2 separate regions of the Homo sapiens genome follow, and region 2 is linked to region 1. Evidence: promoter capture Hi-C in 16 types of primary human blood cells and fetal thymus (Javierre and others, 2016). All regions are on one chromosome and are shown on one strand. The core of a region is centred on a gene start or on the middle of the fragment in contact, and the rest is flanking DNA. Distances in the headings are between cores, read along the strand shown.

The links. Contacts are between HindIII fragments. The CHiCAGO score rates a contact against its expected background, and 5 or more counts as called.
Region 2: a fragment that was not itself captured here is called in contact with the fragment with the promoter of CEP83 in region 1 in 1 of 17 cell types (fetal thymus); the score reaches 5.0 in fetal thymus.

Annotation. Positions count from the first base shown.
Region 1 is chr12:94,457,648-94,461,908 of GRCh38, reverse strand. CEP83 (centrosomal protein 83) reads left to right here and starts at 2,042. Exons shown (of 17, transcript NM_016122.3): 1 at 2,042-2,352. It overlaps CEP83-DT (CEP83 divergent transcript), which reads right to left and starts at 1,906. Exons shown (of 1, transcript NR_027035.1): 1 at 1-1,906. RefSeq lists an enhancer at 1,576-1,625. The HindIII fragment of the contact is 10,845 bases long and covers 1-4,261 here.
Region 2 is chr12:94,163,071-94,167,331 of GRCh38, reverse strand. The region is part of intron 1 of PLXNC1 (plexin C1); the gene reads right to left. Among named protein-coding and RNA genes, the nearest start is that of PLXNC1-AS1, 11 kb to the left of the region's middle. The HindIII fragment of the contact is 2,605 bases long and covers 1,085-3,689 here.

The sequences.
Region 1 (4,261 bases), core at 793-3,292:
TACACTTATATTAACATATGTACACACATATATTCACATTAGGACAGCACTGTACTTGCTAAACTACATTCTGCTTTTTTTTTCCTGAGGGGAAACTATATTTTTTGGACATACTTTAATGCAAATAAAGAACTTTCCATCAGTTTTTAATGGGTCAAGAGTATTCCATTGCATGTACCAATCATAATTTTCTTAACTAGTGTCCTAGTGATGGACACTTGTTTCTAGAAGCATTATTTTTAAAAAAGGTGGCAAATAGTATCCTTATGAATCCCTTATTTTCCTTAGGGTATATGCCTCGGAAATGAGACAGCTGTGGGGCAAAGGCTAATGCATATGTTAAATTTTGGTAAATAGGGTTGTACCAATTTCACCTTCACACCAAAAATGCCTGACAGTAATTGTATCCCACACCCCTATCAACAATGATAGACAAAAAACAACTGTTTGGAAGTGGGACAACTTTCCGTTTGTTAATTGAATATTTGTTTTTCTTGGCTTTTTGTATTTTTAATAGATGGGATTTCACCATGTTGGCCAGGGTCGTCTCGAACTCCTGACCTCAGGTGATCCACCTGCCTTGGCCTCCCAGCGTGCTGGGATTACAGGCGTGAGCCACCGCCATTTCCCGAATGATCTTTTTCCTACTGACCAATAATTTGTCATGTATAGTTTACTGGCTACCACAGAGATTTCTGGAGTTGTCTGGCTCCAGCGTTTAAAAGTAATGGTTTTGGGCAACTCTGTGAAATGGAGATAACAATTGCACCTACCTTACAGAAATGTTAGAGTTAAATAAGATAACCTGAAAAAGTACTCCAGTACTTGCCACACAAATGCTCAGCAAATGTGAGCTACTGTTATTATACTAAACACGCACACATACATGAGAATTTCTGGATTCTCTATTCTATCTCCCATGTCTCATCTATGTAATCCATCCAGCAACATTCCATTACCAACTCGCTGTCCTTTTTTTCCCTCCTCTTAAGAGACACGGTCCTTTCTAATGGCCCGTTTTCCCTCATTTCAACAACAACAAAATCACCTCTCAGTTGTCCAATAATAACTACAGCCTGAAAATCATAATCTTGGGGGTAAAAATAAGCTGTACTTCACAAAGCAGTGAGAATCAAAGCCCAACCAAGGCACTGAACAAACGCTGGGGATGGGAAGGTGTCTGTTTCTTCCAACACGTATTTTGAAAGGCTGACCGCCTACTTTGTTTCAGACTTTGGATGATCATGGAAGTTCTCAAAAGCTAGCAACTCCTCTTCCAACTATTGTTTACAGCCTTAAGACAAGTAGTTCCCCATGTGACCCCAGGTGGGCCCTGAACTTGGGATAACCAGGACAGGAGACTTGGAGCAGGAGGTGCGGGGGCGAGGAGGGCTCTCTCCCGGGCGATTGGTCCTAACCCGAGGTTCCCTCGTGGCAAGCTGAGCCGACTCCCCACTCGTGGGCTGATGCCCGAGGCAGACGCGGCAGGCAGGCGGCTTCGGGAGCGCATATCTGCACCCATGGGGACGATGGCAGGCTGGCGAAGGGAGAGAGGTGGCGGCAGGACTACCATTTGAGGCTCTCAAATGGTGTGGGGAAGAGGGAAGGAGAGGCGCGAAAAGGAGGAAAACCCCTGGAGACGCTGTGTCGGGCGGAGGCTAGGGAGACCGGCTTCGCGCTCCAACGACGCGCATCACTCAGACTCCAAGGCAAGTGCCCGGGGCTAGATTTTCCGTCCCCTGGGGCTCTGGGGATCTCTGAGTCCATCCCAGGGCCCTCCAGGAACGCCTTCGGGAGCGCAGCCCGGCCCCGCCGCTGCCGCTGTCACCCGTGGCCGCTCCCGCCTCGGTTCGTTTGTCTCCTCCCTCTAACGGCTCCGGCAGCAACCGGCGTCGGTGGCGTGGGTGACGTCGGCGTGGGGGGTGGGACTTCCTGCTTCGCGTGCCGCTGGGCCAAGGGACAGAGCCCGCTCCTCCAGGCTGGTGGGGCGGTGCGATGAGGCGGCTTCTGGGCCATACGTCAGCACGTGGGGTGGCGCCGCACCCCTGAGGATCCCGGTCCACGCGGAGGAGTGGGGCTTTTCACCGCCGCCGCCGCCGCCCTCGGACCTCTCCCGGGATACTTCACATTTCCCTAGGGACGGGAGCCCGAGGGGTCCGTTCGGCCCTCTTCCTCTCGCTGGGCCGACACCCCGCTGTAGGACCGTAACCCTTAGTCCCAATGCCTCCGTAAGCGGAGTTGAGTGGGTGCCTGTGGTTGGAGCTGTGGAGGTGTCCCCGGTGGCGAGCGCGGCCAGAACTGCGGTCACTTAAGTTTTCCGTGTGCGGGTTGCAAGGAGCGTGCGTGCGTCTGGTATGTAACCTCTCTTTCTGGGGACGGTGTCTTGTTTGTATTTTGGAATACTCATTTTGTCCCTCCACAAACTGCCCTTGAATCCTTTTTTTATTTTCCTGTTAAAGTAGTGGAAGCTCGTGCTAGAAAAGTAGGCAGAGAGACGCACGTGAAACTCTTCATGGAGCTTTTGGATGCACTCTGGCTTGGTGGTTGTGTAGCCAGTTTGGTAATTGGCCAGACGTTTAAGTACCTCCAGCTTAATTTACGATGAAAAAGCTATGCTACCATTTTCCTTGGCTTTGAAGACAATTTGAATGAACAGTGATGTCGACTGTCATTACTGAGATAAACACCTAAAATATGTTAGCATATGCTGGGTTTAAATACTTTGGTTAATCCTCAGTGTCCAACTTTTGACCATAATCAATGGGCATTTTGCTCTTAAGAATATCCACTGCTAAGTATTTGTAAAGCCTTTAGTTAGCTGAAATGAGGAAGCTCTTTCAAATCTTACAGATCTCTAGGATAAGGAAAGACTTGTCTGAATTTCGTGTATATGATATATACTTCATAATCTGTTCAGACTTTAAGCAGCTCTAAAACAGAGTGGGTTGTTAAAGCAGTGCTTCTGTTACCAAGCAACATGTCTGTAAACAAGTCTGACATTTAACTAAAACACAATTAAAGGTATCTATCCTACAGTTACCTGGATTTAGAATTTTCCATATTTATGAATTTAGCCTGTAAGTGGTTAGAATTAATACTCACCTTTTGTATTGAGGTTTGATTTCAAACTCAGTTTGTTCAGAATTGTTAGAATGCTTTATTTATTTATTTATGACTGAGTCTCACTCTGTCGCCCAGGCTGGAGTGCAGTAGCGCGATCTCGGCTCACTGCAACCTCCGCCTCCTGGGTTCAAGCGATTCTCCTGCCTCAGCCTCCCGAGTAGCTGGGATTACAGGTGCGTGCCACCATGCCCGGCTAATTTTTTTATTTTAGTAGAGATGGGGTTTCACCATGTTGGCCAGGCTGGTCTCAAACTCCCGACCTCAGGTGATCCGCCCACCTCGGCCTCCCAAAGTGCTGGGATTACAGGTGTGAGCCACCGCACCAGGCCAGAATGCTTTAAATTATAAGTGTCACACAGGACTCTCCTGAGAGTTGCAAATGGTTTTGAGTTGTCCTTTGGTTATTTAGGACAGAGTATGCTGGGTATTCCCCTTACTTTGAGTGTTTTCTTTCCAGATCAGATGAAGTGCGCGGACTGTATTTAGAACATTCTCAAATAATAGTGAAATACAATTTAGAATTCCATGCAGCACTGGGAGAATGAAACACTGATTATTCACAGGTAGTTTTTTTTTTTTTCTTTTTTTGAGACAGAGTTTCATTCTTGTCGCTCAGGCTGGAGTGCAGTGGTGGGATCTCAGCTCACTGCAACTTCCGCCTCCCAGTTTCAAGTGATTCTCTCCTCTCAGCCTCCCGAGTAGCTGGGGTTACAGGTGCATGCCACCATGCCCTGCTAATTTTTGTATTTTTAGTAGAGATGGGGTTTCACCATATTGCCCAGGCTGGTCACGAACTCCTGACTTCAGGCGATCTGCCCACCTTGACCTCCCAAAGTGCTGGGATTACAGGTGTGAGCCAGCGTGCCTGGCCTATTCACAGGTAGTTTTTAATCCTTGGTTTACCAGTCACCTCACTGTCTCCTCTTATTGAACCCTTAATGATAAAATTTTTATGGCAAGTTGTTAGTTTTTAGAGCACTTTTTGAATGATCTTTTCAATCAATAACCTTTCAAGTAAGCAAGTATGTGAGAAAATTTGAGACATGATGAGACTAAATGACTTCTTTGAAATCTATTAATAATGGGAATTGGAACTTGAAGTTTAATGTTCTTTATGTCAGATACCCTTATGTATTGC
Region 2 (4,261 bases), core at 1,138-3,637, 290 kb after region 1:
GACTGTAGATTATCCACAAGGACCAGGTGGGACAGTGTACAGCCAGGTCTGGTATACAGTAGGTGCTTAATACTGTACCTGTTCTAATTCACCAAGAACCATGGGTAGCCTTTCCTGAGGTGGGATGAGAGATCCTGTTTGCAAAAGACTGGATCCAAGAAAACAGAGGCAGCTCAAAAGCTAAAACGGAACAAGGAAAAATCCGTCCCAAATTACCATCTCACCTTTCCCGGTGTCCTTCTCTGATTTCTGGCTGTCCTCAACAATTGTAGTTTTTTTTTCAAAGTAAGTCCGGGATCAGTAGTATAGGTAACTGAGGCGAGAGGATCGCTTGAGGCCAAGAGTTGGAGACCAGCCTGGGCAACATAGCAAGACCCCCATCTCTACAGAGATAAAAAATCAGCCAGATGTGTGGCACACACCTGTTGTCCCACCTATTTAGGAGGCTGAGACAGGTGGATCACTTGAGTCCAGGAGTTCCAGGTTACAGTGAGCTATGATTGAGCCACTGCACTCCAGCCTGGACAACAAAGTGAGACCTTACCTTAAAAAAAAAAAAGTAGCATGGGTAAGTGGTGCAGCCATTAAATCAACATTCTCAAACTTGAGAGAACACCCAGCACTCGTTTACATTTGAGCTTGGTTCTCACTCACTGTGTGACCTGGGCAATTAATTTAATGCTGTTAGGGGTTAGCTTTCTAGTATCTAATAAGGCTGATGTGTCTGATTGGCAGGGTGGTTACAAAAAAGAGATGATGATAGTAATAATAATAATAATAATAATAATAATAATAATAATAATAATACCAGCTAACATGTACTAATACTTACTGTGTGCTACCTGAAGTATTTTATCATCTTACCTAATGAAGGCAGTATAGCATAGAGAGCCAGCCAGACCACCTAAGTTTGACTCCTGGCTCTGTCACTTTCTAGCTAAGTAATTTTGTAAATGTGATTTAATCTCTCTGTGACTCAGTTTTCTCCTCCATATGATGGAAATGATGATAAGAGCACAGACTTTTTATGCCACAGACTTTTTATGAGGACTGGGTGAGTTTGTGCGTAAGCCTCAGTAAAGCTTAGAACAGGTTTGGCACATAGCAACACATAACCCATGCTTGCTATCATTACTTCATTTAAAAACACAAGTTACTGCCACACCCATGGCAGTTATTTTCTCTTTGCCAAGAAGAACCCTAATTTTGTTCAGACAGCAATGAACCCAAGCCTGGTGGAAGCTATCGTTGGGCCAAGCCAAATGGCAGCTCCATTCCCTATTGCCAGACACTGGCTTTCCTAACCCTTAGAGCTGAGGGTGGTCATGTGGCCCAGTCCTGGGCAGGGAGATGTGAGAAGTCCACTGGAAGGATTTCTGGGAATAAGTTTCCTCATTGATAACAGAAGCCTCTTGAGGAGAACCCGTTTGCCCTCTTCCCTCACTTCCTCCTCTGGAATACAGTTGTGTGATCTCATCATGCATAGACTCGTGGCAACCGTTCTGTTTCCATGAGATTCAAGATGAAGGATACAAAGCAACATGCTAAGATTGGTGCAGGGGAAAGAAAAGAGATTCTATGTTCCTGGAGACACCACTGAGCCGCAGACCTTCAACTTTTAAACATTTTACTAAGTTAACAATAGTTGTCATGGTTTAAGCCACTGTTGGTTGCGTTTTCTGCTACTTGGAACCAAAAGGAAGTCACTGTTTAAGAAATGACAATCACAACTTGTTGGAGCGGACACTAAACTGCAGTTCTTCCCCAGCTGCAGGGACCAGGACGTGGACAAATGCTTGTTCCTCTCACCAGCCTGGAGGACCCTGGCCACAGTCAGGATTTTGCAGCCTATTACAACAGCGAGCCTGGAAGAAAACAGGAGAGGAGGCTTGGACCTCATGAAAACTCTAGGGGCTGCTCTGGCTGAATGGAAATGGATTCTTTTGTGCTGGAAACACACAGAAATGGACAGGTCCCTGTGAATGGGAAAAGGAACCCTTTGAATGGCTTTCTTATGCTTATTGCAGCAAATGAAAACAAAAGAAAGACAGGCTCCGGAGAAACGTCCTCACAAAAGTGAGGTTAATACCCAGGGAGCCAGGCAGAAGAAGGGGGAAACAGTGCAGTCAGCCCCCTGTGTCCAGAGATTATTCTTTCTCTCTTTTTTTCGGGCCTATTTTCTATCTTGCCCTTCTCTCCCCTTAGGGCATAATCGCTAATGTTGCTCTCAGCCTATTCTGTCTAGTTTATTATGTGTAATTTATTTCTGAATCCCAGCCTCTGCTTGTTCGTCTGTGTGTAACAAGGTTAATGCCTTGTAATGATGCTTTTGCCAGTTCTGCCTTTCATGACAAAATCCGATCTTGATTTCGCTCTAAACCTTGTCTCCCCTTTGGGCTTTCTTGGTTCCCTCAGAGTTGTCACTCTGCTTCTCCTTCCTGCCGTGTCTAAGCATAACGTCACGCCTACACGTTTGCCGGCTCTAAGAGGGAAACTTTTCTCAGTTGGAGGAGAAAGCTACCTTGGCTCAAGCGATGTTTGGGCTGAAAGAGAGAAAGAGCTTTGGGCCTGATATAGCAAACTGGGACCAAAGCTCCTGAGGTGTGTGTGTGTTTGTGTGTGTACGTGTGTGTGTGTGTGTGTGTGTGTGTGTGTGTGTGTGTGTGTGTGCAGGGAGTCATGGGCATATCATGAGGAAAACAATTAGACTTCTTTGCAGCTGCTTCATATGATTTTTCATGGACAATAAATACTCTCCCATTGTGCCCTGCACAACTGCAGGGGGTGCCAGTCATGCATTCCAGGGTGTGAAAGGCACCCTCTAGAGCTGAGCCACAGCTTGGCCCTGCCCCTACCATGTGAAAGATGGCCCGGCTCATCGAGGCAGGGTGCTCACAGCCATGCTCCAGCTTTTGCGGCATCATCGGGAGGGAATGGGCACAAAACTGGGGCCTCCAATGTTGAGCACCAAGCAAGAGTCAAGTGTTTTACCCCCAAGGTGCTAAAAGGATTCCTGTATGTTGATTTTACCTTACCAGGTGGGAGGAAATACCAACTGGGTACCTATCAATTTCTTGTACATGACAAAATGCCTTTCTTGGGCAGTTAATTTTATATTCTGTTCCCTTTGGGATCCCTTTGTTTTGAAGCAGTTTCATCATTTTCTGTTACTTCCCAAGGGGCCCACTTGCCATTAGGAAACCCCTGAAGGAGCCCTGCACCCAAGTTCTGGCCCCTGCTCTGTGCCTTATAGACTGCTTGATTCCAGCAAGTTAAGTCTCCTGAACCTCAGTGACTGTATCTGTAAAATGGACCTAATAATACCACATGCCCTGCCTCTCAGTGTTGTTGTGAGGTCCAGATGAAATCATGTGTTTGAAAATAATTAGATTACTTTTATTCAGCTAAGGAGATGGAAAGGACAACTATTTGCCCAAGTCGGACAGTGATTTTATTAGCTAGGAAGGCTCGGGTTGCTTTTCTCCATTCTAGTGTATACAGTGTTGACCGGGATCTGACTAAGTTATGGCAGCTCTCTGATCGTCTGAAGGAAGAATTTACACTGGGGACTCAAATGACCAAAAGGAGAGGTTCAAAGTGTGCTTAGGGACACAGCTGGGCAGCCTCTAGACCAGAAAACATCACTGGTGTGCAGCACAGCCGTGGGAAGCATGCAAGGTGGTGAAGCTTGTATTTCACCTCCTTCTACCCTCTCCCCTCCCTCGACGGGCCCCAGTGTTCCCAGCCACCCAGGCCAACCCACCAGCAAAGTCCCACTCTCCAAGATTCATCCTTCCTTCTTCCCGCTTTATGTCCCTTCCCCACCCCCACAACCTCCTTCTCCTCCCTATGGCTAATTTCAGTCAATTACTTATAAAAAGACGACCTGACTCAAATAATTTACAAAAGTATATGAATGGCAGATAGCGTGAAACTGCATTTTCCTAGATTCTTTTTTTTATTATTATTATTTTGAGACAGAGTCTCACTGTGTCGCCCAGGCTGGAGTGTAGTGGCACGATCTCGGCTCACGGCAACCTCTGACTCCCGGGTTCAAGCGATTCTCCTGCCTCAGCCTCCGGAGTAGCTACAGGTGCCTGCCACCATGCCTGGCTAATTATTGTATTTTTAGTAGAGATGGGGTTTCACTATGTTGGCTAGGCTGGTCTTGAACTCCTGACCTCATGATCCGCCCACCTTAGCTTCCCAAAGTGCTGGCATTACAGGTGTGAGCCACCGCACCTGGCCCTAGGTTCTCAGA